2 separate regions of the Homo sapiens genome follow, and region 2 is linked to region 1. Evidence: promoter capture Hi-C in 16 types of primary human blood cells and fetal thymus (Javierre and others, 2016). All regions are on one chromosome and are shown on one strand. The core of a region is centred on a gene start or on the middle of the fragment in contact, and the rest is flanking DNA. Distances in the headings are between cores, read along the strand shown. Region 1 holds the start of PNPLA4 (patatin like domain 4, phospholipase and triacylglycerol lipase). Region 2 overlaps WWC3 (WWC family member 3).

The links. The method cuts DNA at HindIII sites, captures the fragments that hold promoters and counts their contacts. A CHiCAGO score of 5 or more calls a contact.
Region 2: a fragment that was not itself captured here is called in contact with the fragment with the promoter of PNPLA4 in region 1 in 1 of 17 cell types (total CD8 T cells); the score reaches 5.2 in total CD8 T cells.

What each region holds. Positions count from the first base shown.
Region 1 is chrX:7,924,779-7,929,598 of GRCh38, reverse strand. It overlaps PNPLA4 (patatin like domain 4, phospholipase and triacylglycerol lipase), which reads left to right and starts at 2,186. Exons shown (of 7, transcript NM_004650.3): 1 at 2,186-2,313; 2 at 3,467-3,659. The coding sequence starts at 3,480. LOC107985675 (a long non-coding RNA gene) reads right to left here and starts at 2,099. Exons shown (of 5, transcript XR_001755784.2): 1 at 186-2,099. RefSeq lists enhancers at 1,579-1,658, 1,999-2,048, 2,069-2,308, 2,539-2,768, 3,431-3,480 and a silencer at 3,457-3,751. The HindIII fragment of the contact is 3,086 bases long and covers 1,558-4,643 here.
Region 2 is chrX:10,090,998-10,095,817 of GRCh38, reverse strand. It overlaps WWC3 (WWC family member 3), which reads right to left. Exons shown (of 24, transcript NM_015691.5): 8 at 1,537-1,686. Among named protein-coding and RNA genes, the nearest start is that of CLCN4, 64 kb to the left of the region's middle. The HindIII fragment of the contact is 2,141 bases long and covers 760-2,900 here.

The sequences.
Region 1 (4,820 bases), core at 937-3,436:
ATCCTCCCACCTCAGCTTCCTGAGTGGCTGAGACTACAGGCACATGCCACCTCACCCAGCTGAGAGCTGAACTTTTAACTAGTTACATGGAGATATGATACGGGATTGAAGGGAGTAAGGAGGAAATAAATTTAAAATTTTAAGAGTTAAATTATGGAGCATTTTGCTGCTCCAAAGAGACTTACCTTTGGTGAGCTCTCACTCTGCCAGCCAGGTGTAGAAATAGTGGATGCCCTTATCTTTCCTTTAAGTGAAAGATATCAAAGTTGTGGTGTTCATCCAGGCTGCCCGGTGATAAAGTTTTCACCTGTCTCCTGAATCGACCTGCTGACAGTGTCCAAATGCAGGAAATAACTTGCTCTGTAAACAGCATCCCAGATTCTGGTTCTGTAAATCCAGTCTCTCCTTAAACTTCTGATGCCACCACATCACTTTAAACCAGACCACCTGTCTTAATCCATTCAGGCTGCTATAATAAAGTAGCATTGACTGAGTGTTTATAAAAGAAATTTATTTCTCACAGTTCTGGAAGATGGAAGTCTGAGATCAAGGTGCCAAGATGGTCAGGTTCTGAGGAGGGCCCTTTTCCAGTTTGCAGATTGCCATCTTCTCCGTGTACTTTTATCCTTACATGGTGGAAAGAGACCTCTCTGGGGTCCCTTTTCTAAGAGTACTAATCCCATTCATGAGGGCTTCACCCTCATGACTTAATTACCTCCCAAAGGCCCCACCTCCTAATACTATCACCTTGGGGGTTAGTATTTCAATATGTGAATTTTGGAGGTATACATGCAAACAATAACACCACCAAAGGAGTTAGACCACTGCTTCAGGATTCTGTTAAAACGCAGATGCCGACTCAGATCAGAGATGGGACCTGGGATCCTTCCTTTCTCATGAGCTTCCTGGAAGATGCAGTTCTGGGGAGGATCACACTCGACCTTAAAGAGCTAGAAGATTGTGGAAGGTTTAAGGACTGGAGTGTGTCCTGTATTTTCCTAATGTACGTTGTGCCTTCCCTTCACTAAATTCCGGTAGAGGTAAAGAATTCTGAGTAATGCAGTCATTCTACGATAAGGCAATAAGGTGTTTCAGGATCAATTTTCTCTAAAGAATAGTTATGTGAATTAAAAACATCTTCCCTAATCGTCACATCAAGGACTCACAGGTGTTGTTGGCCAGAGACGATACACCAAAACAGAAAGAAAAAGCCCAAACCAGAGGCAATTTGGAGAGCTCCACCCCTCCTCCCTGTTTTGTCTAAGGTAGAGACATTCTCGCAGACGCTCCTTTGTAGCCTCAGAGAAAGTAAATCTCTGCCCTTAAACTAGGGGACCTGGAGAGCCTTCAATCACGAAGTCAGGGATTCCTCCAGGCTTGGTTATTAGGATTAGATAAGGAAAACACCGTTTGGGGAGAGAAAGAATTATCAGAGTCCTTTAAATCTTGGTGGGCATGGCAGGCATCTTGGCGGTCGTTGAAGCTGCTTAAGTCTGAGCCAAAGGTGCCAGAGGACAAAACAGCCACCTGCTCACGGCCCCCTATGTGGAAAAAGCTTTCCAATTTAGCTCTCTCATTTTAGCATCTCAATCTGCACATAAGGCACGCGGGAAACTCAGAGAGGTTATGCTACCTGCTCAAGGTCACACAGCCTAAGGTCAACTGAGGATATGAAAGTTCCCCAGAGTCATAGTCCAGCTTTTCCTTTAGATAGCACTTCTTAAAAAAACCAAAGGCACGCCTTGAAAAGCTGCGGGATGTCCAGCCCCAAAATAGCCGCTGGAGTTGGCCCCTAGGGGCAGCTGGACCGCCCAGGCGGGCGAAAGGGTGGAGAGGGAGAAGAACCACTTCCGGGAAACAGACGCGAAGAGGGTAAGGCACTTCCGGGGCACAGAAAATGAGGATTATTAAAGGTCAGTTGCTCGCAGGTAAGGGCCAAGTAGCGTTAAAAGACACGTAAGGATTACAACGCCTCTCTAGGGTGTGGGTTAAAATGTCTCTCTAGGTACTCGAAGATAACATGACTCTAAACGAGGAATCCTTGCCTGCGCTGGAGGACGCTCCGGTCTAGCGGCCAGGTTGAGTCCAGAAGTTTAAATAGAGCAGGCGGGGCCTAGCGGGCGCCTTCGTCGGCGCGATGACGTCACATACCTGCGCGGGAGGCGGTACCAACCCCTGCCGCAGGACTTTCCTGGGCCGGCTCGCGGAGAGCGTAGCGCGGCCTTGGTGGCGGAATGGCGTTGAGTGACGGCCCGGCCCCGCCATCTGGTTAAAGGGACTCGTTCAACACGGAAGTGTCCCGGGGCTGCATTGGTACGGAGCCCTGGGGCCCAGCAAGGGTGTGCTCCTGCGGGACTGATGCGGGGACCACCCCGGCCCTGCCGGCCTCCAAGCCGCGGGAGGGCACTGAGCCTGTGCTGGCTGGGCCTGGCCGCCTGGTTGCTACACACCCAACCCCCTTCCCGTCCCCATTTGCAGAAGTGGAATCAAAACTGGGGCTTGACCCCGGATCGATGACTGGGACTCAGCCTACGCGGACGCCAGCGCAGCCTGCGGCGGCCGAGCCACCTGCCCTCACAGGGCCTGGCCGGGTGCATCAGGAACAGGCGGTCTTAGGTCCCTAAATTCGAGGCCCTGTAATGTGCCTCATCTTGGGGTCCCTGAATGGGGCCCTTGGGCCCCCAAGGAAACCCTGAGACCTTCAGAATGGACAGCCTTGTGGAGGCACAATTTCATTCACTTGGGCAAATTGTGCGCACTGAGGCATAGGAAAACATGTAATTTTGTATTTAGATGTGTTCCAAGTATAAAGTGGCGTGGCTGACATTTCATAGAGCCTTAAATTGCCTTCACCAGGCATGACCTCAGTTTGTGTTGAGATACTTGGCAAAGAAATGTATTGCATTGTTGAGTGATTGCTTATTGCGTTACTGAGTAATTGTATTGGCGTTCATAAAAGCATGGGTGCTCACAATAGAAATTGGGAAGGGGAGTAGGGAACTGTATTTGAAATCTTCTGATACACTTACCAAGAACAAATGTATTGTTCATTTGGAATTTGATACGGTCTCTAATAATTTTCTGTTTCATAATGGTAGTGCCGCCCCCACCCGCAAAACGTTTCAAAGGGTCAAGAGAAAAGACCAAATGCCCTTGTCAACTGGAATTTATACGTCTGTTTCCTGCCAAGTAATTAAATCGTAGATTCATAATCTATGTACCGAATAAATGTGGAATGTTTTTGTTTTGTTTTGTTTTAATGTATAAGACTTGGGTCAAGGTGAGGAGGGAAAGAAAGGGTTTCCTTGAAAGATTCTTGTGTTTAATTAGAATTAATTGAAACCACTGTGCTTAAAACAGAGAATGATGTTAGAAGAAAGCCTTGGAACGATGATCAACATAAGACTACACAGTATGTGGGATAAACTATTCCAACTTACAGCATTTTTGTTTTTTGTATTGCCAGTGCTACAGCTAGAATGAAGCACATCAACCTATCATTTGCAGCGTGTGGATTTCTGGGCATTTACCACTTGGGGGCAGCATCTGCACTTTGCAGACATGGCAAAAAACTTGTGAAGGATGTCAAAGCCTTCGCTGGGGCGTCTGCGGGATCGTTGGTTGCTTCTGTTCTGCTAACAGCACCAGAAAAAATAGAGGTAATTAAGTAGTAACTTAGGCTGTGTTCCTCATCAAGAAATTAAGACCCAAAGGCAAACACCAGCATTGACTCTACTAAGTTAACACTGCAGAGAAATAATCGTTTGCTTGGAAACAGAAAGGATTAGGACTTTTCTCTTAAGATGTAATTATTAGGGATCTGTGCTCTGGTTGTGGAAAAGATTATTTTGGGTGATAGTGAAATAAGGAAATAAAATGACTTATATTACTCTTGAGTTTTTATTTATCCTTAAGATTCCAGCTCTGTTCCTTTCAAGCAAAGGATATTTCTTCTTTCTATGATCATGAGAAGAGCATGGGGCCTGTTTTCAAGGCCTTGAACATGTGGGCAACAAGTCTTACCTCACTGCTACTTAGAAATAGATACATAAATTAAAATGTGGGCATGCAGTTTCTATTAAGTGGAATGGTATAGGAATTTAATTCTTTTTTAATTCTCACAGTAAGAGGAAGCTCTGAGTTCCAAGCAATTTATCCAGAAGTAATACAAATAATTATTCATTAAGTACTTTATTTAATGCAATCTATGTTTTAAAATCTGTTTTCTGCTATCCAGACAGTGATCAATCATTTGCTGACTGTGAGAGCTGGATTCCGTAGTTGGAGAATATTATATTTGTTAATCATTACGTACTCTAGCAGCTTTGAACAATAATGAAATAACAATTTAACACCCTCATACCCAAGAATGAATTTCAGTCACATTTAAAATTCCAAAACTATGCAATGTTAAACATCAGAATCTCATTTCAGATCTTTTGTGAGCTGCTTATCAAAGGGAAGCTAGATTTGAGGCCAATCATTCAGAAATCCACCTATCTTCCTGTCTTTATATGGTTGATTTACAGGGAACTAGAAAAGTGATTTAAAAACTGCAGAGATTAAACAGGACCAGAACCTTAAGCCATGCAAGGTATAAATGAGGTCGGAAAATTCCCCCTAAACTAGCAGATTCATAAGCTTTGAATTACAAGCTACCTCCTTCCCATAACTGTGTTTCGTTTTTGAAGCAGAGGGCTTTCAGGGTGTCACTTCTTCCTTTTTACTGCAGTCTTTTCTTGAGCTGTGGCAAATCCTAAGCTTTGGAGTTATGTAGACTTGGTTTCCAATTATCAGCAAATTAAAAAATGTATTGTATG
Region 2 (4,820 bases), core at 581-3,080, 2.2 Mb before region 1:
TCTCGGTCTCCTGCACATCACACAGGATGGGAACAACTACTTAAACTGAGATAACAGCTATGAGATTGCTGACCTAGGGTCAGCCCCGGTAAACTTCAGGAGCTTATCAACAATGAGCAGTGACTGCTCAAGTAGCATAACCAGCCACCACTCCTCACCTGACATTTTTAGAAGGGTTGACCTAAATCACTGGAGAACCTTCTATCTTAACTGTTTCTCTCAAACTAAATTCTAATTCTAACCTTACAATAAGCAGCAATGAATTATTCACGAATTCAATGAGTCTTACACTTGTTTCCTTCTCTCGCTCCAAAATCTTTACGCAAAAATGCCAAACATTTTTGAATTACAGATTCTCCTCTGTGTGTTACAGATGGCGACCATATTCTTTCATCCAAAGAAGATGCCTAGTCAAAAACGGCCAAGTGTACGTTTGGAACAACGCAGGCAAATTTGAAAATAGGACTGTTCCAGGACACCCAAGACATAAAGGGCCGTGATTTCCTACATTATACTCCACTCGAAGAGGCACTAGTTGCTAAGATTTCAAAATATTAATTAGCTAATTATTTAAAACCCAGAGTTTTCCATCAATTGTTTTTTCCTCCTTTTGTTGCTTTCCTTTTATTTATTTAATTTCGGGGGAGGGGTGGCACTGTGCATTCCATTGATACCTCATCTTTACTTAATAATCCTTAAAAAAAAAAAAAGAAGCTCTTTAAACTGTTTTTCCATTTGGTAACAAATTAATGTCAAGCTTCACTCAATGATATTACAATACTAGCGTCTTTGAATATCCACCATCCTGCTTCAAATGGTGATTTTCCCAACTTTGTTTTTGTGGCTAACTCAAGGCTTCGCTAATTAACAAAGGAGGCATTATGACATTCTTCCAAGTCTCAAACAAAAATGACTTTTAGTTCAATTCAATTTCCTGACATTCTTTTAGAAGAGTAAGAAACAGCAATAAAGTAACACCCAAGGTGGCACAGCTATAAAGCCTTTGGAAATCAGTGGTCTAAGGCAGGAATCAGTAACTATGGCCCTGGGGCCAAATCCAGCCCACTGGCTGTTCCGTAAGTGAACGTTTGAGCAGCTCGAGGCCCCAGTCTTACATGCTTGCAAGGCATCTCTGTTATGGCTGCATGTACACTACAATGACAGGGTGGGGCAGTTCCAGCAGAACTACCTGCAAAGCCTAAAATAGTGACTATATTTACTATCTGGCCCTTCACAGAAAAAGCGTGGGGACTCATGCTCTAAAAAGTGATATGTCTGTCAAAAGAACAGTGAAACTCAACTCTCACAAGGAGTATGTCATTTATAAGAGTCCAAATCATAAGGGCAGCAGTAATAAGCAATTCAATTGTATCACACAGCTGGATGTGAGACACAACACTTTTTCTTCAAACTTAATGGCACAAAAGTGAAGGCATTTCTTAAGTGAACATGGAAAATTACACCAAACCAGTGATGGCAACACTGAAGCAGCCCTCCCCTCTCCCGGTGCATTTCTCCCCCTGGGCGCGCATATACCTCCCCGATGATATCAGTCTGGGAGCCGGCATCGCAGAACTGCTGGGGTACACCAGCATCGCCAGGCACGCCTACATGGTGAGGGAAGTCCACTAGAGAGTCGGTAACGGAGCAGCTGTTCTTGAAGCTATCGGTCAGCTTGGCCAGGCTCTGGAACACAATGAGACAAGCTCTTTGAACGGAGATGGTGATGTGTCTCTTCCCTCCAGAAGTGGTTCTCTCATTTGTTTTAGGTCTGCTGCATTATTTATTACTGAACAGTTGCCCCACCTCACCCCCATGCTCGTTAGATTTCACATAAATGCCCTTCATCACAGGCACCTCTAATAAAATTCTTAGTCATTTAAATCACATCGCAACTAAGTCCCCCTGGCAGCATGTGAATAAAATAGAGGACAATTATGGTACCATTTTTACTGGTTCTTAAACCTTCATGTTTCCTAAAGAAAAAAATAAGTATTTCTATCGAAAATGTAAATGAGCCTGACAGAGATGAATGCTGCCTTGAGATTGTTACAGAGGAAAAACAGGGAAGGGGAAAACAGCTCCCAGACAATGCTTACGTATTTCTTTTTCAGTTCTTTGAGTTGCTGTTTTAGCTTACGTATTTTTATAAACCTCATTTCTCAGTCATAATTCTACATGGTCAAAAGTAATCTCATATGTATGTTGGTTTGCCAAAAATTAGAGTTAGTATGCATTCTGGCACATGAAATCTCTCTGTGTGGCAGTTTTAAGCAGAAATCAGAATTCTGATTTTTTTTTTTTTTTTTTTTTTTTTTGAGAGAGGGTCTCACTCTATCACTCAGGCTGGAGTGCAGTGGCACAATCATAGCTCACCGTAGCCTCGACCTCCTTGGCTCAGGTGATCCTCCGACCTCAGCTTCCTGAGTACTTGGGACTACAGGTATGCCACCACACCCAGCTAAACTTTTGTTTGTTTGTTTGTTTTTGTAGAGACCAGGTCTCACTATGTTGCCTGGGCTTTTCTCAAAGTTCTGGGCTCAAGCTATCCTCCTGCCTCAGCCCCCCAAAGTGCTGAGATTATAAGCATGAGCCACTGCACCCAGCCAGAAATCAGATTTTTGACCATTTCTTTTAGACTTCTGAATATATTCACTTTCAGCAAATTTTACTACAGACACCAGAACCAAAAATGCCCAAGTGCAGTAGAACTCACAAAACTGGCTTGAGATTGAGATAAGGCCTTCTTGGGAGGGGCCAATATTGTTAAGTTCACATAAGAAAGGCAAAACAACTTATTTAACCTGGATAGAAGAGGACTCTGCCTGTGCCTCTTCCTGGAGCTTCTCAGAGTTTGAGAGGCTATGGAGACGTCAAAGAAGGTGCTCGAGCCTGAAGCTTCTTCCAGAAATTCTATCTGTTGCCTCCACGGTGGGAATTCAAGCAAGGCAAATGAGTGGCTGGCCCTGGTGCTGCACACGGTGGCCTCAGAGAGGCCGGGGCAGGCAGCCCTGCTTGGCCTCATGGCGTAAAGCCTCTGTGTCTCCACCATGGAACACCACATGGTTCAGCCTGCGGTATTGACGATGGGTAACAAACATGGGGCATCTTGTTTGATGTCAGCTGAGCAGAGACCTCAATAAATGGTAGCTGTTCTCAGTGCTACCTGTGTGCCAAAAAAAAAAAAAATCTAACAATTAACCATTTACTTATCACAACCTGGAGAGGTCATCTGAAAATAGATTCCTAGGCCCTACCTCCAGAGATTCTAATTCAGTGAGTCTAGGGTGGGGCCTGGTAATCTGCATCTTAACAAGCACCATGAGGACTCTCCGCAAGTCCCTCATGGCCTTGACCTTAGAAGGCACTACCCAGGCAGGGTAGTTTTTTTGTGCATCTGTCTCATTTTGCCTATGAGTTTGAGCTTTGCTTGTTCTGTCCTGTGGGTCTTATACTCTACAGAATCTAGACACATGCCAGCAGGCAGTAGGTGCTCACTTAGGGTAGCAGATGAAAAATAAAAGCTGTAACCAAAAGCACTGAATGCATTCCAGCACTTTACGTCATGAGGTCAAGCAGCGCTCCCCTGCCTTGGCCTCTCTGAGGCCACCATGTGCAGCACTAGGGCCAGCCACTCAGATGTCTTGCTTGAGTTTCCCACCATGGAGGCAGCTTTTTGCATTTGCAAAAGTTCAACTTTTTCTAAAAATAACAGAAACTACAAAAGCTCAAGGGGAAAAAAACATAAAGCAGTATAAAGCTACAATGATCCCAGCTATATATAATACAAATACACCCACATAGTAAAATACTATGCAACCATCTCAAGGAAAGAAGCAGCTCTTTGTGTACAGATATGGGGAAAGGTAGGGGATATTGCTGTTAAGTGAGGAAGCTAGTGCGGAACAGTATCACAGTCCTGGCTTTGCGTGAGGGCGGCTAAACATGTATTCTCTTTTTGTGTGCCCACATGAATGCTGGAAGGGTAGGCAAAAAGGTAATAAAGGCAGTCAGGGGCAGTAGGAGGATGGGGCGATAGCGAGACTTCTTATCATAGACCTTTGGAATTATCTTGATTATTGAACAATATAAATGTATCACCCATTGCTGTGGGTTGAATTATGTTCCCCCAGGAGATATGTTCAAGTCCTAACCCCAGGAACCTGTGAGTGTGACCTTATTTGGAAATAGTCTTTACAGATGTAATCTAGTTAAGATGAGGTCATACTGGATTAGGGTGGGTCGTTATCCAATGGCTGGTGTCCTTACAGGAACAGGAAATTCAGACAAAGAGACAGTCATGTGACCATGGAGGCAGCAATCAGAGTGGCTCATGCCTGTAATCCCAGCACTTTGGGAGGCCGAGACGGGAGGATCGCTCGAGGCCAGGAGTTTGAGACCAGCATGGCCAACACGGTGAGACCCTGTCTCTACTAAAAATATAAAAATTAGCCAGGCATGATGGTGCGCACCTGTGGTCCCAGCTACTCTAGAAGCTGAGGTGAGAGGATGGCTTGAGCCTGGGAGGTCAAGGCTACAGTGAGCCATTTTTGTGCTATTGTACTCAAGCCTAGGTGACAGAGATCCTGTCTCCAAAAAAAAAAAGAAAAGTATACAGGAGGACTGTGCAGGTTATATGCAAATACTACACCATTTTATATAAGGGACTTGACCATCCAATGATTTTGGTATCCTGAGGGATGGGGGTGTGTCTTGGAACCAATCCCCCAAGGATACAGAGGGATGACTATATACGTACTTAAATACAGTGGGGGGTGCGTATGTATGTATGCATGTGTGTGTGTGTGTGTATTATATAC